Regions from separate parts of the Homo sapiens genome. Here region 2 is linked to region 1. The links are contacts of gene promoters, found by promoter capture Hi-C in blood cells and fetal thymus (Javierre and others, 2016). All regions are on one chromosome and are shown on one strand. Each heading gives the region's core, a stretch centred on a gene start or on the middle of the fragment in contact. The rest is flanking DNA. Distances are from core to core; before and after follow the strand shown.

Evidence for each region. Contacts are between HindIII fragments. The CHiCAGO score rates a contact against its expected background, and 5 or more counts as called.
Region 2: a contact is called between a fragment that was not itself captured here and the fragment with the promoter of SRSF7 in region 1, in 1 of 17 cell types (activated CD4 T cells). The highest score is 5.1, in activated CD4 T cells.

Annotation. Positions count from the first base shown.
Region 1 is chr2:38,748,175-38,755,123 of GRCh38, reverse strand. It overlaps SRSF7 (serine and arginine rich splicing factor 7), which reads left to right and starts at 3,763. Exons shown (of 8, transcript NM_001031684.3): 1 at 3,763-3,895; 2 at 4,930-5,110; 3 at 5,419-5,595; 4 at 6,471-6,545. The coding sequence starts at 3,868. RefSeq lists an enhancer at 3,259-3,318 and silencers at 4,179-4,278, 4,489-4,678. The HindIII fragment of the contact is 14,475 bases long and covers 1-6,949 here.
Region 2 is chr2:37,387,335-37,394,174 of GRCh38, reverse strand. No RefSeq gene overlaps it. Among named protein-coding and RNA genes, the nearest start is that of QPCT, 46 kb to the right of the region's middle. RefSeq lists an enhancer at 3,882-4,071. The HindIII fragment of the contact is 1,011 bases long and covers 3,237-4,247 here.

The DNA.
Region 1 (6,949 bases), core at 2,514-5,013:
CTAATATTACAAAGATTAGCTGGGCATGGTGGCTCATGCCTATAATACTTTGGAGGCTGGGGCACAAGAATCACTTGAACCTGGGAGGCAGAGGTTGTAGTGAGCCAAGATCGTGCCACTGCACTCCAGCCTGGGCGACAGAGCAAGACTCTGTCTCAAAAAATAAAATTAAAAAAAAAAAAAGACTAGTATTTTTTAGCATAGACTACTTATTTATATTAAAAATAGAATATTGGTGTGGCAGAGGGGGAAGTTGGGGTCCAGGAGGCGGAGTCTGAGGTCTGCCCACTTCTTGCCCTGCCTTAAAAACAAAAAAACAAACAAAATAGACTAATGTGCAAAACATTTAAATTTTTTTTCCTTTCTTGTTTTAACGTTTTCACATCCAAGCTCAAATGGTGATAATGACTTAAAAGTGAAACTGAAATGGTGAGAGAAGTACGATTAAAAAGGGAACTTTTTCTTTAATATTTATCTGGAAATACCAAATGTAGAAAATGCAGATACATTTTGAAAACTGCTGTAAAAGGCTTATGAATTACTCCCCTTTCCTAAACTAATAATATTTTTAAAATTTAACAATAGTAACATGTTAATAACTAATATTTCATATTAGGAAATATTACAATATTTGAAGAAAGTAGTTTTCATATTCAAACAATCTGAGAATGTAATCTAAATTTAACAGATTTCTAGAGGCAGAAACTTATGTGGGTGAATGTGATTTCAACAAGAATCAGCAGGAATAAAAGTTCTCTGCACAGTAAAATCTCCCTGATTTGGACTGACATTTAGTGAAAAGAATTGGTTGCCTGTTCTTAGAGAAAGAGTGTTCAGTAGAAAGTAGAATAGTCTATGGAAATAGTATACAGTACTATTATTTTTTCATGGTAACCAGATTAACAAAGCCTGGCCTTGTACTGGCCCTGCTTTCATAGGAATAAACAGTATGTAATTAGCTTATTGAACACCTGTCTGCAAGACAAGCATGTCTGTGAATCAGGATTTGAAAGCAATTGGTTATAAATTTTAAAACTGCTTCTGTTTACTATTACTTGCTTAGAAATTTCTTTAGTACAACTATAGACTTTGTTTTGTTTTGTTGGTAGAGATGGGGGTCTGGTTCTGTTGCCCAGGCTGGTCTCAAAGTCCTGGCCTCAAGATATCCTCCCACCTCAACCTCCCAAAGTGCAGAGATTACCGGCATGAGCCACAAAACCTGACTTAGACTTTGTATTCAGAGTCAAAAAAAGTTTATTGGAAAAAAAAAAGTTTATTGAGGTTTATTAGGAATTATACAGTATAACATGCACTGTCTTTCAAGCAGTTATCTATGCTTGGCTCAACAGTAATTTTCTTTTTTTTTGAGTCGGAGTTTTGCTCTTTTGTTTTGGAGATGGAGTTTCACTCTTGTTGCCCAGGCTGGAGTGCAATGGCGCAATCTCGGCTCCCTGCAACCTCCACCTCCCGGGTTCAAGCAATTCTCCTGCCTCAGCCTCCCAAGTAGCTGGGATTACAGGTGCGCACCACCACGCCTGGCTAATTTTTTGTATTTTTAGTAGAGACGGGGGTTTCACCATGGCCAGGCTGGTCTTGAACTTCTGACCTTAGGTGATCCGCCCGCCTCGGCCTCCCAGAGTGCTGGGATTACAGATGTGAGTCACAGCGCCCGGCCTAGGAGTTTTGCTCTTGTTGCTCAGGCTGTAGTGCAATGGCAAGATCTCAGCTCACCACAACCTCCACCTCTCAGGTTCAAGCGATTCTCCTGCCTCAGCCTCCCGAGTAGCTGGGATTACAGGCATGCGCCACCACGCCCAGCTAATTTTGTATTTTTAGTAGAGACGGGGTTCCTCCATGTTGGTCAGGCTGGTCTCGAACTCCTGACCTCAGGTGATCCGCCAGCTTCAGCCTCCCAAAGTGCTGGGATTACAGGCATGAGCCACTGCGCGCGGCCTCAACAGTAATTTTCATAGCTTCTTAACAGAAGAAAGTCAACTTAGTGAGGCTTTACAGAATTTATATTTTATCTTTCAGATACCATATAATCTTTTTTTTTGAGATGGAGTCTTGCTCTGTCGCCCAGGCTGGAGTGCAGTGGCACGATCTCAGCTCACTGCAACCTCCGCCTCCTGGGTTCAAGCAGTTCTCCTGCCTCAGCCTCCGGAGTAGCTGGGACTACAGGCACACGCCACCACGCCAGGCTAATTTTTTGTATTTTAGTAGGGACAGGGTTTTACTGTGTTGCCCAGGCTGGTCTCAAACTCCTGAGCTCAGGCAATCCGCCCGCCTCGGCCTCCCAAAGTGCTGGCATTACAGGCGTGAGCCACTGCGCCTGGCCCCTATATAGTCTTTATAATTATTGTTTAATTCTTTTGAGAAGAACCTATAGATCTTTATAATTATTGTTTCTTTTGAGAAGAACCTTGTTAAGAAAAAAATCACCAAGACTAAGGGAGAACACATATACTCTACAGAGCTTCTATTTTCTTCTTAGAGATCTTCCTGAGAGAGATTAATTCTCTCCATAACTTAATCAACGTAAAAAATATGCATAAAATCATAGCATGACCTGGAAAGAATCCATGCTTTATTCACCAACTAGGCCTGCTTTCCCTGTACTCTCCATTCCACACCTATACTCACCAAATGAAGTTGCAAAAGACGAAAAAGATAAAAATGCAAATACCTAAATGTCTTTTTTTATGTACATTTCCAACTTTTGTGTATTCCAAGAATTTACGATGTAATGTCTATGTTTCTAGCAAAAAAGAACTTTTTCTCTATTTGTAGTTGGTGTCTAGAGCAATTCTAATGTAAAGAAGTTTTGCATTTATTTGGTACTGTTGAGTGGCTGAGCAGCAAGGCTGCTATTTCCACTGAGTGGAGATACACAAAGATGACTTAGGAGTCCCAGTCCTCAGGATCGGAGTATTGGTGGATCACACGTGTTACAAAGCAGAAAGCATTAGGAAAAGCAAATCAGTTACTTTGAGCTTCAGATGCAAATAATTTCCAAATTGTCACTGGCCAAAATGCTTTAAACATTCAGGGTTTTGTCACAATTTCAATATAAAGGGGGGAGGGGGGAGCGGGACCCCACAGCTCTATTCCTTTGTCTTTCAGACTCCAAGAACTCAGACCGTGGTGGTGCAAACTGGTGACTGGTTCAAAAGAAGTTGGAGGGGGCGTGTAGGACAGGAGGCTTTACCACCAGTCCCAGGGTGCGTCAAGGTCTATGGTGTAAAAACCACTACTCAGAATGGCGGGGTTCATGGACTTTTCACCATGGCCAAACCTTCGATTACCTCTGATGAGCCCCAAAGATCAGAGTAGCTGACTAGGCCAGGTCCCCCAGCAGAAGGGCGCGACGGCTGCAACATCAGCGGTTAAATTGTACAGCCTTTCATAGGCCGGTCTAATGCATCCGTACTAAGATTGTTAAGGCTGAGGGTCCCTAGCCTGGGGAAAAACGAAAGGAGGCAGAGGGTAGGGAGACGGGAAAGAAGACAAGGAGGGTGTAGAAAACGGGGAGAGGAGGGGGCGGGACAGCATGGGGAAGGCCTCAGGTTTACTGGAGAGATCGTGGCGTTCCCATAGAAACGTATCCCTCCGCCCATGACCCGCGTGTTAGTCTCTTCAGTTCCTTCCGCGTCGTTTCTTGGCTGTTTCCGCCCAGCTCCTTTGTGCCGCGCAGAACAACGAGATGACGCATGCGCAAAGCGCAGCGGCCGCATATATAAACGCGAACCCGGGCTCTTCCTCGTAGTGCCGCCGGGACTCTTGGCGGGTGAAGGTGTGTGTCAGCTTTTGCGTCACTCGAGCCCTGGGCGCTGCTTGCTAAAGAGCCGAGCACGCGGGTCTGTCATCATGTCGCGTTACGGGCGGTACGGAGGAGGTAAGAAGCTGGAGTCCGGTGAGGGACGTTGGTGTGGGTGTAGTGAGCACTGCGAGGCCGTAGGGTTGTCGCGGAGGTTGGGAGACGGTTATTCCGCGTGCGTAATGGCGGCTTAGGAGCACGCCAGACGAAGCCGGAGGCAGCGGAGGCGGGGTGCTGAAGGGAGACGGGATGGCGGGTGTACATCTCTGCCGAGTTCCGTACTCTTGGGCATTTTTGTGGCCCAATCCAGCCTAAAGCAGGGTTGAGATGACGGTTTTCGCGTTGCCTTTCTCGGAGCTGCCCGCCGGCCCCCCTCCCCCCCCGCCCTCGGCGGCGGCTGCCATTTTGCGCACATTGAGGACCGTGGTGGCGCATTTCCTCAGCGCTTTCCCGCCACTTCAGCGGACAGATCTGGCCGCAGCTGTAAGATCGTGGTTGTGTTTGAGATAGAACGAAATTGGCAGCTGTGAGCTGCATGTTCTCGTCAAACAATCGGTTAAATTGCGGAATGGGAATGGGGACGTAATCTGCGACTGGCGGCTGGGTTTTTTTTAGTTATTTCCAGCGCGGTTTATGGCTCTGGGGCGGGGAGCTGGAGTCTTGGGCGAGCCTGTGCCTGGGACGTTTGCCGCGGAGGACGAGAGCCGGCGCAGCCCTGCTCTCCTGGCCCGGCCCCTACCGAGGCCCTCCCGCCGCCGACGCCGCTGCCGCTGCGGGCCCGCGCGCTCCCGGTGCGCCCGGGGCTGCCGGGACTCATGGGTGGGGCCGGGCCAGGTTCCGCCCCACGCCTCGGTGTATCCTACCACGCGTTTCTGCTTGTGTTCGGGAGGGTCACCCCGCATTATTTAGAACGTTAAGAATTTTGTCAAAAGTCTAGTTTCTCAGGGATTTGCGGACTTTCACCAGTTTTACGACTAAGTTTTGTCTTGGATAGAGGGCATTAAATGTGCTTTACCCAATCTTGAGGATGGCCCGTTTTAAGGCAAATAAGTAATTGAAACTTGGGCCAGATTTTGCGTAACGTGCATTCTTCTATTTGCGTTTTTAAACAGAAACCAAGGTGTATGTTGGTAACCTGGGAACTGGCGCTGGCAAAGGAGAGTTAGAAAGGGCTTTCAGTTATTATGGTCCTTTAAGAACTGTATGGATTGCGAGAAATCCTCCAGGATTTGCCTTTGTGGAATTCGAAGATCCTAGAGATGCAGAAGATGCAGTACGAGGACTGGATGGAAAGTAAGTAAGATGTTATGAATCTTCTGTTCATTAAAATATACTGTGGCTAGATAATGAACTTAGTGCTAAATTTGGATTCTGAAGTCTGGAAGAGACCTTAAATAGCTGGTCATAGTGTTAAATGCTAAAGGCACACGAAGGTTAAAGAAGATAGCGGAGATGGAGTTAGGGCTTGGTAAAGACCGCCAAAGTTTGTTGGGGGGGAAGGAGTGGTTGGAAAGAGTGAGTGGTTGGAAAGAGTTCTTTTTAAATCTATAAGTCCTGAATATATTTTTAACTTTAGAATTTTGTTAATTTGCTTTTATTAGGGTGATTTGTGGCTCCCGAGTGAGGGTTGAACTATCGACAGGCATGCCTCGGAGATCACGTTTTGATAGACCACCTGCCCGACGTCCCTTTGATCCAAATGATAGATGCTATGAGTGTGGCGAAAAGGGACATTATGCTTATGATTGTCATCGTTACAGCCGGCGAAGAAGAAGCAGGTATTTATTTTAATAAAGGAATGGTTGGTATTCTAGTTAATCAAGTAATTCTTTTATTAGCAAGGCAGAAACTAGTGTTTTTCTATAAACTTGAATGTTAATTGTACAGGTGTATTTTACAATTTTTGTTTAATTAAAAAAATGTTACTATATTAATAATCAACCTGGTCAAAACCTTTCAGGTTTCTTCGTTTGAGTCAGTCGCCTTGATTCAGAATGTCACGAGCCTTATGATATCATGCTGAGGCGCCTTGCAAATCCGACAATTAAGATCCTCCTAGACCTTGAGGTGATCAGCATAAGAGGCCAGATCCCCTCGAGTCATCTACACCTAGCTTCACCTTATTCTTTAAAGGGCAGAAAATTTGAGACGGTGATCGCCGTAACAGTAAATTTGGCTTACAATTGGGGCCCCCCTCCGGTTTAGAAAGAGGAACACCAGATTGACCACATTCCCAACTAGAAAAATCTTCTTGCGTCAATCAAGCCTCACCTGGCTCATTTGGCTGTCAGTTTGATCGTCGTTAGATTGAAGAAAACATCTAGATGCAGCGATCGGCTATAGATACTTCTAGATCGTCTAGATCTACTAGACCATGGGCCAAAGAGGGTCGACCTGCAAACTTGCAAGGTTTATTTTAAATACACATTACAGTGTTTTATATTATGTAATGCTAAGTTGTAATTCAGCTTTTAACAAATCTTTTTTTAGGTAGTAAAAAAAAAAATACTCAACAACTAATAGGCCCAGAGTTTATTTCCAAATGAGACACTAAATTTAAATAGTTTTGAGATTTGATTTCAGCAGAGGCACACAAACTCTTAAAAACGAGTTATTGTCTGACATTTTGTTTTTTCTCTAACTTGAAAAATAGGTCACGGTCTAGATCACATTCTCGATCCAGAGGAAGGCGATACTCTCGCTCACGCAGCAGGAGCAGGGGACGAAGGTGAGATCTTGTTTAACTGAAGTCTTTCTGTATTATTATTAAATTCACTGGTAGTCCAACACAGAAAAAGCTCATTATTTTTTTTGGAGACAGGGTCTTGCTCTGTCACCCGGGCTGGAGTACAGGGGCATAACCACGACTCACTGCTGCCTTGATGATCTCTTGGGTTTAAGCAGTTCTCCTACCTCAGCCTCCCGAGTAGCTGGGACTGTAGGCACTGCCACCATACCCAGCTAATTTTTATTTTTGTAGAAATGGTCTTGCACTGTTTCCCAGGCTGGTCTCAAGCTCCTGGGCTCAAACGATCCTCCCGCAGTGCTGGGATTATGGGCATGAGCCACTGCACCGTTCCCCAGTTGAAGTCTTAACAGGCCAAAAAAAAAAAAAACTGTGGAGATGGACTT
Region 2 (6,840 bases), core at 2,493-4,992, 1.4 Mb after region 1:
CTTAACTTGAACTCTTAAGAGTGAAAGGGGATGCTACTGATCATGACAGTCACCATCTCCATAAGGTGCTATTGTCAGAAGCACCATCTTGAAGGAGAAGCTAGCAAGAAACAGAGGTACCAGAACCTAAGTCAAAGGTTATGAGACCAGAGGCAGAACGATGAAGCTGGGTTTGAGGATCCCTCAGGTTGTGGTCCTGAAACAGTCAAATGATTTGCTTTTTATCAGTACCAAGGTGTCACTTCTCTGGTGCTGTGCCTTAGCACAGGTAGTGATAGCAGTGACTGTAGTATATGCCAGTATCACAAACAATTTAAAAGTCAGCATACCCACTGAGTATGCATGGACATAAGATTCACTACAAAAAAAAGTTCTCTGTTTAGCTCACTCCAGCTCTCTTCTCACTCCAGCTGCAATTCTATGAACAAAGCATTTCCCCCTAAAACCTTTCACTTTTCCTATCATTTTTTATGTCCACATAAAAGAAGAAAAACAGAATCAAGTATCCATTCCCCTTTGCATCATGAAATATGATGTAGCCTCCCAATAACCAAGGCAAGGTAAAAGAGAATAATCTAGAGGTCATGCCTGTTCACTGGGTCTAACTAATAGGATGCCTGATTTTTCTTTTAATCAGATTGGCTTATTCTCAATGACCATGAAACAGACCCCAGAGGACATGTGGATTGACAATTTTCTGGCCTACAGTGTTATCTCCAGTTACAACCTAAAATCTCTCTGGTCCTCAACCATAACAAGCTACAACTTAAACTCTGGTGCTCTGTGGACACTTGCCCACCTTTCATTTGCCCTCTCTTTTGAGACTATCCCTGATTCCATTGCTATTTATCCACTCATTTAACAAACTCACCATTGCCAGCCTCTGTTCAAATAAGCAAAACAAAAATCCCTGCCTTTGTGGCACTTATATTTCAATGGGAAAGTCAAATAATATAAAACAAACATTTTTGGGGAAACAGGGTCTCACTCTGACGCCCAGGCTGGAGTGCAGTGGCGTGATCATAGCTTGCTGTAGCCTCGAACTCCTGGGCTCAAGCAATCCTCTCAGCTCAGCCTCCTGAGTAGCTGGGACTACAGGTACACACCACCACACCTGGCTTTATTTTATTTTATTTTATTTTATTTATTTATTTTTTTTAGTAGAGACGAGATCTCACTATGTCGCCCAGGCCGATCTTGAACTCCTGGGCTCAAGTGATCCTCCTACCTCAGCCTCCCAAAGTGCTGAGATGACAGGTATAAGCCAACAAGCCCAGACAAAAAGCAAACATATTAAATAGGTAAATTTTACCATATGTTAGAGGGTGATACAGAAATAAGTAGAACAGAGTAAAAAATCTCAAGATTAAAACTTTAAACTGAGGGGAGGGATCAAGCAAGACATCGTTGAAAAATTACAGTTCAGCAAGGAATGGAATAATATTTTTTTAAAAAATAGCCATGCAGGTATGTGGGGAGAAAATATTCCAGGCAGAGAGAACAGCCTGTGCAAAGGTCCTGAGGTAGGATTAAGACTAACATGTTCAAGAAACAGCAAGTAGGCCACTGTGGCTAAGGAAGAGTGAGCAATGGAGGAGACTAGTCAAAGATGAAGTCAGAATGGTGCTCAAGGACAGATCACAGAGGACCAATCAGACCACTGTAAGGGCATTTATTCTGAATGAGATAAGGAATTATTGCAGGGCTTTGAGTAGAGGAGTGACATGACGGGACCTAATTCCTTAAAGAACCGCTCTTCCTGCTGCATGAAGAATAGACTGAAGGGGGCAAGGGTAGAACCAGGAAGCCTTGATAAGAGGCTGTTAAAGTTATCAAGGTAAGAGATAATGGTGGCTTGGACCCAGTGCAGCAGCAATGGGGGTGGTAGAAGGTGATTGGATTCTGGATGTATTTGGAAGATAGACCTGGCCAGGCTACCTTCTGACTGGGTGTGGGATGTGAAATAGAAGAATCAAGAATGACTCCAAGGCCAGGCATGGTGGCTCACACCTATAATCCCAGGACTTTGGGAGGCCGAGGTGGGTGGATCACTTGAGGTCAGAAGTTCGATACCAGCCTCGCCAACATGGCAAAACCCTGTCTCTACGAAGCATACAAAAATTAGCCGGGCTTGGTGGCACACCCCTGTAATCCCAACTACTAGGGAGGCTGAGACAGGAGAATTGCTTGAATCCAGGGAGCGGAGGTTGCAGTGAGCCGTGATTGCACCACTGCACTCCAGCCTGAGCAACAGAGCGAGATTATGTCTCAATAAAAAGAATGACTCCTATGTTTTGGGCTACAGGAAGGTTGGAGCTACTGCCATCCAACAATGTCTGAAGCAGATTTGTGGGGAGGAGACCAGGAGTTCAGTGGGAACTTGCTGAATCTGACCTTCAAGTAGAACTGTTCAGTAGGCCGTTGTACATACAAGTCTAGAAAACATTTGAGAGCTCCAGGAGTTGCCAACATATACATGGTATTTAAAGACTTGAAGCTGGATGAGGTCAACAATGGACTGAGATGGAGAAATGAAGAGGAACAAGAACTGAGTCTTAGAGCCTTTCAAACTTGACAAGTCTGAAGATGAAGAGGAATCAGCAAAAGACACTGGAAAATAGCCACCAGGGTGTTGGAGGAAAATCCCATACAATTCTAATTTCAGTGGGCACACAGGACAGAACATTCTATTCTCGAATCTTCTTTGGTTCCCTGAACCAATGTAAACAAATTCCATACTTCTGAGTGCTTTTTTCTTTATACCTGATGCCCAACCATTTCAAGCCCTCTCCCTGGGTTTCCTGTATAGCTCTGGTAACAGCCAGAGCCACAGCCGCGACATCATGAAAAGCTCAGATGGGCAGCCTCTTTCCTGCTTTGATACATCCCATGTCCAGAGGAAGAACTGTGGATCTAAACAGAACCCACAGATGGTGGCCTACCTAACACTATCAAAACACAGAAAGAATGAATGCTCAAACAAGCTCCCCGTCAGGGTGTTGTGCTGCTTTCAGGAGCCCAGCAGCATGTAGAAGATGATGTGCAGAACTCGAGGAAGAGGATAGATAGACTTGAGGACCCAGAGCATCCTACAACTTGAGACATGTAGCCCACTACCTCTATGAGGATCCTGCCCTATATCCTTGTGGACCATGTGCTGAAGTTGCCCTTAGGAGGAAGCAATGTCTAGGAATTAACTTCTGAGGTTCTGAGAACACAGAAATATCTTCAAAGCTTCATCTTTACAATTGGATTTACATACTGACTCATGTTTGAAATTCTGCCATTATCAGAGTTTAATCACTTGATTTTAAAATGTTTCTAATCAACTCTGCTGTTCCTTATTCTCAGCTCAAAATGGGAACATAGAGTTTGATAGAGAGGAACCGGGAGAAGAGAGAAGGCATGGGATGATGAGGAGGGAGAAAGTCCCCTCCACTTCTGCCTCACCTCCCAGGAAGGAAACTAGTCCATAACAGGGAGGCAGGAAATGTAACCTCCCACCTGGAGTTTCCCCTGTTGACAGATGGGGGAGGAAGTCATGGGGATGAGTCAGAAACTCTTTGAGGGAGGCTTTGCTTGAGAGCTGCCTATGCAAATTGTCTTGGGCTTCCTTTTCTGCCACAGAGGAAACAGACTAAACCTAAAGGCTTTGCTGGTACACAGAAGCCAAAAGGAGATCAAGTGTGACTATTCCGAGGTCAGGTTTCTCGCTCGATGCCTGAAGGAGGTTCAACACCCCCTCCTTCCTCTGCCTACTCCTTCTGGCCTTCTGCCCTCCACCCAATTCTCTGTCTCACCCACAAATCCTACCCAATGCAGAAAAGTACTCCATACTGTGGTTCTTCATTTCTCTTTATTTCATAACCATATTTCTCATCTCTCTTCCCTGGGACTTCCTCAAATGTCCTTCTTTTGAAGGAGAGAGATGAGGAGGAGGCAAGAGGCATACCTAGGGAATTCCCTGGAGTTCAACTGAAACTTGTTGCAGTTCTGTTTCTAAGTCACCATTTCCCTGAGGGCAGCACTTTCAGAACCTACTGGCAACTGAAGTCTAGATCCCCACTCTGAAGCTCAGAGCCTCCCTTTGGCGGGCCTTGGGAAAGGAGGACAGGCACAGACAGCTTACACCCAGCATCTGGCTCCTGGCTGTGAGCTTGGATCTCTCCCTGCATCTGTTCCCTCGGTGCCTAATTCCAGCCCTGTGGGTAGATTTGGTCTTCAATAGCTGTCTGGTGCTTCAAGCTTTGTTTGTCTAGCTAGAAGCTTCAATTCTTGGTTTTTTGTTTTTTTTTTTTACTTCAAATAACCAGGTACTCCATAATACTTGGAGTGTTCATCTGAAAACTCAAAATGAGTCACTTCGATTTGAAACAGAGATACAGGATTAGCATAATAGAGTGAAAAGGCATGAGACTGGGTGCAAATCCCAAAACCTGACTTCTGGCCCAATCTTCATTATTGTATAAACTTGAACAAGTTGCTAAAGCTCTCTGTATCTGAGTTTGCCCCATCTCCTCCAGGATGAAGCAGGGCAGGCCTTGAATGAGGACAGGGGCCCTGAGAGCTGGAGCTGGGAGGTGTAGATGCTCATGGCAGCCAGTAGAGCCAAGAGGCAGAGGGCAAACCAGGTTCTTAGAGAACACAAAAGGCCCAGACCAAGGATACCAAATCTCTCACCACAATCAAGAGTAAAAGCCAGGAGATACACTGTTACATTTTATATAGGGTAGTTGGAGAAGGCCTGTGATAAAGGGACATTTGAGGCAAGTCCTGAAGCCAGAGAAATAGAAGCTGGATCAGTTCTTGAATATTTGTTTAATCACCAAGTATGTATTAAACCTCTGACACACACAAATATCTCCAAGTTGCTGGGAATACAATGATGAAAAACATAGACATAGTCCTTGCCCTCATGAAACCTACAATTTGATCATGAAAACAGGCTGCCCCCCACCCATAGTAAAACAATATTGTAATGACAAGTTGTGATAAGAAAAAAGAAAGAAATGAGTAGAGTGCTGAGATAGAAATATACAGGGAAGGACCTATTCTGGATAAGAGGATGTGAGGAACAGCCTCTGTGAGAAGGCCAAGAAAGAGACAGCAATGTAAATCGGGACTAAAGGAGAATCCCATGTGGAGGATAAGGATGTCCAGAAGCCTCCCTATGGCAGGGGACTGCTTAGTAAGTTCAAGGAACAAAAGAGGGCAATGGCATTTTAGGCCAGAGAGGGAGGGAAAGAGTGGTAGAATGTTGAGTTTCTGGGCCAGGCACGGTGGCTCACGCCTAGAATCCCAGCACTCTGGGAGGCTGAAGCAGGTGGATCACCTGAGGTCAGGAGTTTGAGACCAGCCTGCCCAACATGGTGAAACCCTGTCTCTACAAAAAATACAAAAAAAAAAATTAGCCCGGCATGATGTTGGGCGCCTGTAATCCCAGCTATTCAGGAGGCTGAGACAGGAGAATTGCTTGAACCCAGGTGGTGGAGGTTGAAGTGAGCCGAGATTGCACCACTGCACTCCAGCCTGGGCAACAGAGTGAGACTCTGTCTCAAAAAAAAAAAAAAAAAAAAAGATTGTTGAGTTTCTGAGTGGGGAGGGCCTTGTAGGCCATAGTAAGCCATAGTTAAGGAGTTCATATTAATTCTCAGTGCAGTGAAAAACCATCACAGGGTTTTATGCAGCATAGCAATGAGACCTGATTAATGTGTTTAAAACATTTCTCTGACTGTTGCATGAAGTCTAGAATGAAGCAGGGTGGAATGCTGCAGGGAGTCCAATTGGGAGGCTGTTGCATATCACAGGTGAGAGAGGAGGAAGCAGAAGCAAGATCAAGAGCAGATTCAAAGCAAGAGGTACCAAAGGATTGCCACAGATGAGTGGGACTTACCAGGTGACTTACAAGTGAACCATCCTGGCTTCAGTGAATCATCCTGGCTTAAGGTCCAGGATTAGGAAAGACAAGTTTCCTCATCATGAAGTTCATTCAACAAGTATTTAACATGCATCTACCATGTTCCAAGTACTAGGCCGGTCATTGAGGATACAGCAGTAAACGAAACAAACTCCCTACTCTTCTTCTGGGCTCACATTCTAGAGAGGAGAGAGAGATAACACACAAATAAACAGATAACAGTCCCCTAGAAATCAGAGCCTGAAACAAAAGCTCATGGCTTAGACTTTATGAGAGAAGGTGCAATTTAGGGGGAGTAAAAGTGAAGGAAAGTAGGAAGTGAGACAGGAAAGGAAGAATGGCAAATACAAGGGATGTGTTACCAAGATGGCCAGCTTTGCCACAAATACAGCTTGTTTCTCCATCTCCATCTCTTCCAGAGAGGTCAAATAAAATCACTGCATGTCAAAACAATCCACTGGAGGGAGGAAGGGTAAGCAATTAACCCTCGGTCTCTTCCTATCTCCTGCTTTCCATTGATTTGTCTACTGTGCAGGACATTAACTGTATGTATTTCTGGGTTGTGTCACTGGCCCCCAGGGCAGCTGCTGGGGAAGCCAGAGCTTCCCTGGATTCAGTTGAGTCAGACCTCAGTGTTGCAGCTGCTGCAGCTCCTACCAAACATAAGTCTAACCCTCATCTCTGGGGAAAGAAGAAGCAATGTGTAGCGTTAGGGGATGAAGTGATTGATGGTGGTGGCTTTACAGCGTAAGTTGTCACTAAGACCTCTCCAGGATGGAAAATGGGCAAGTCCAGGGGACAGGATGAAGGGGATCAGGGAAGGCCCCTCCAATTAAGTATTAGTTGAGCAAAACCTCAGATGAAATGTGGGCACATCCGACGCAAATATCTAGGGGAAAGCATTCCAGGCAGAGGAGCAAGCA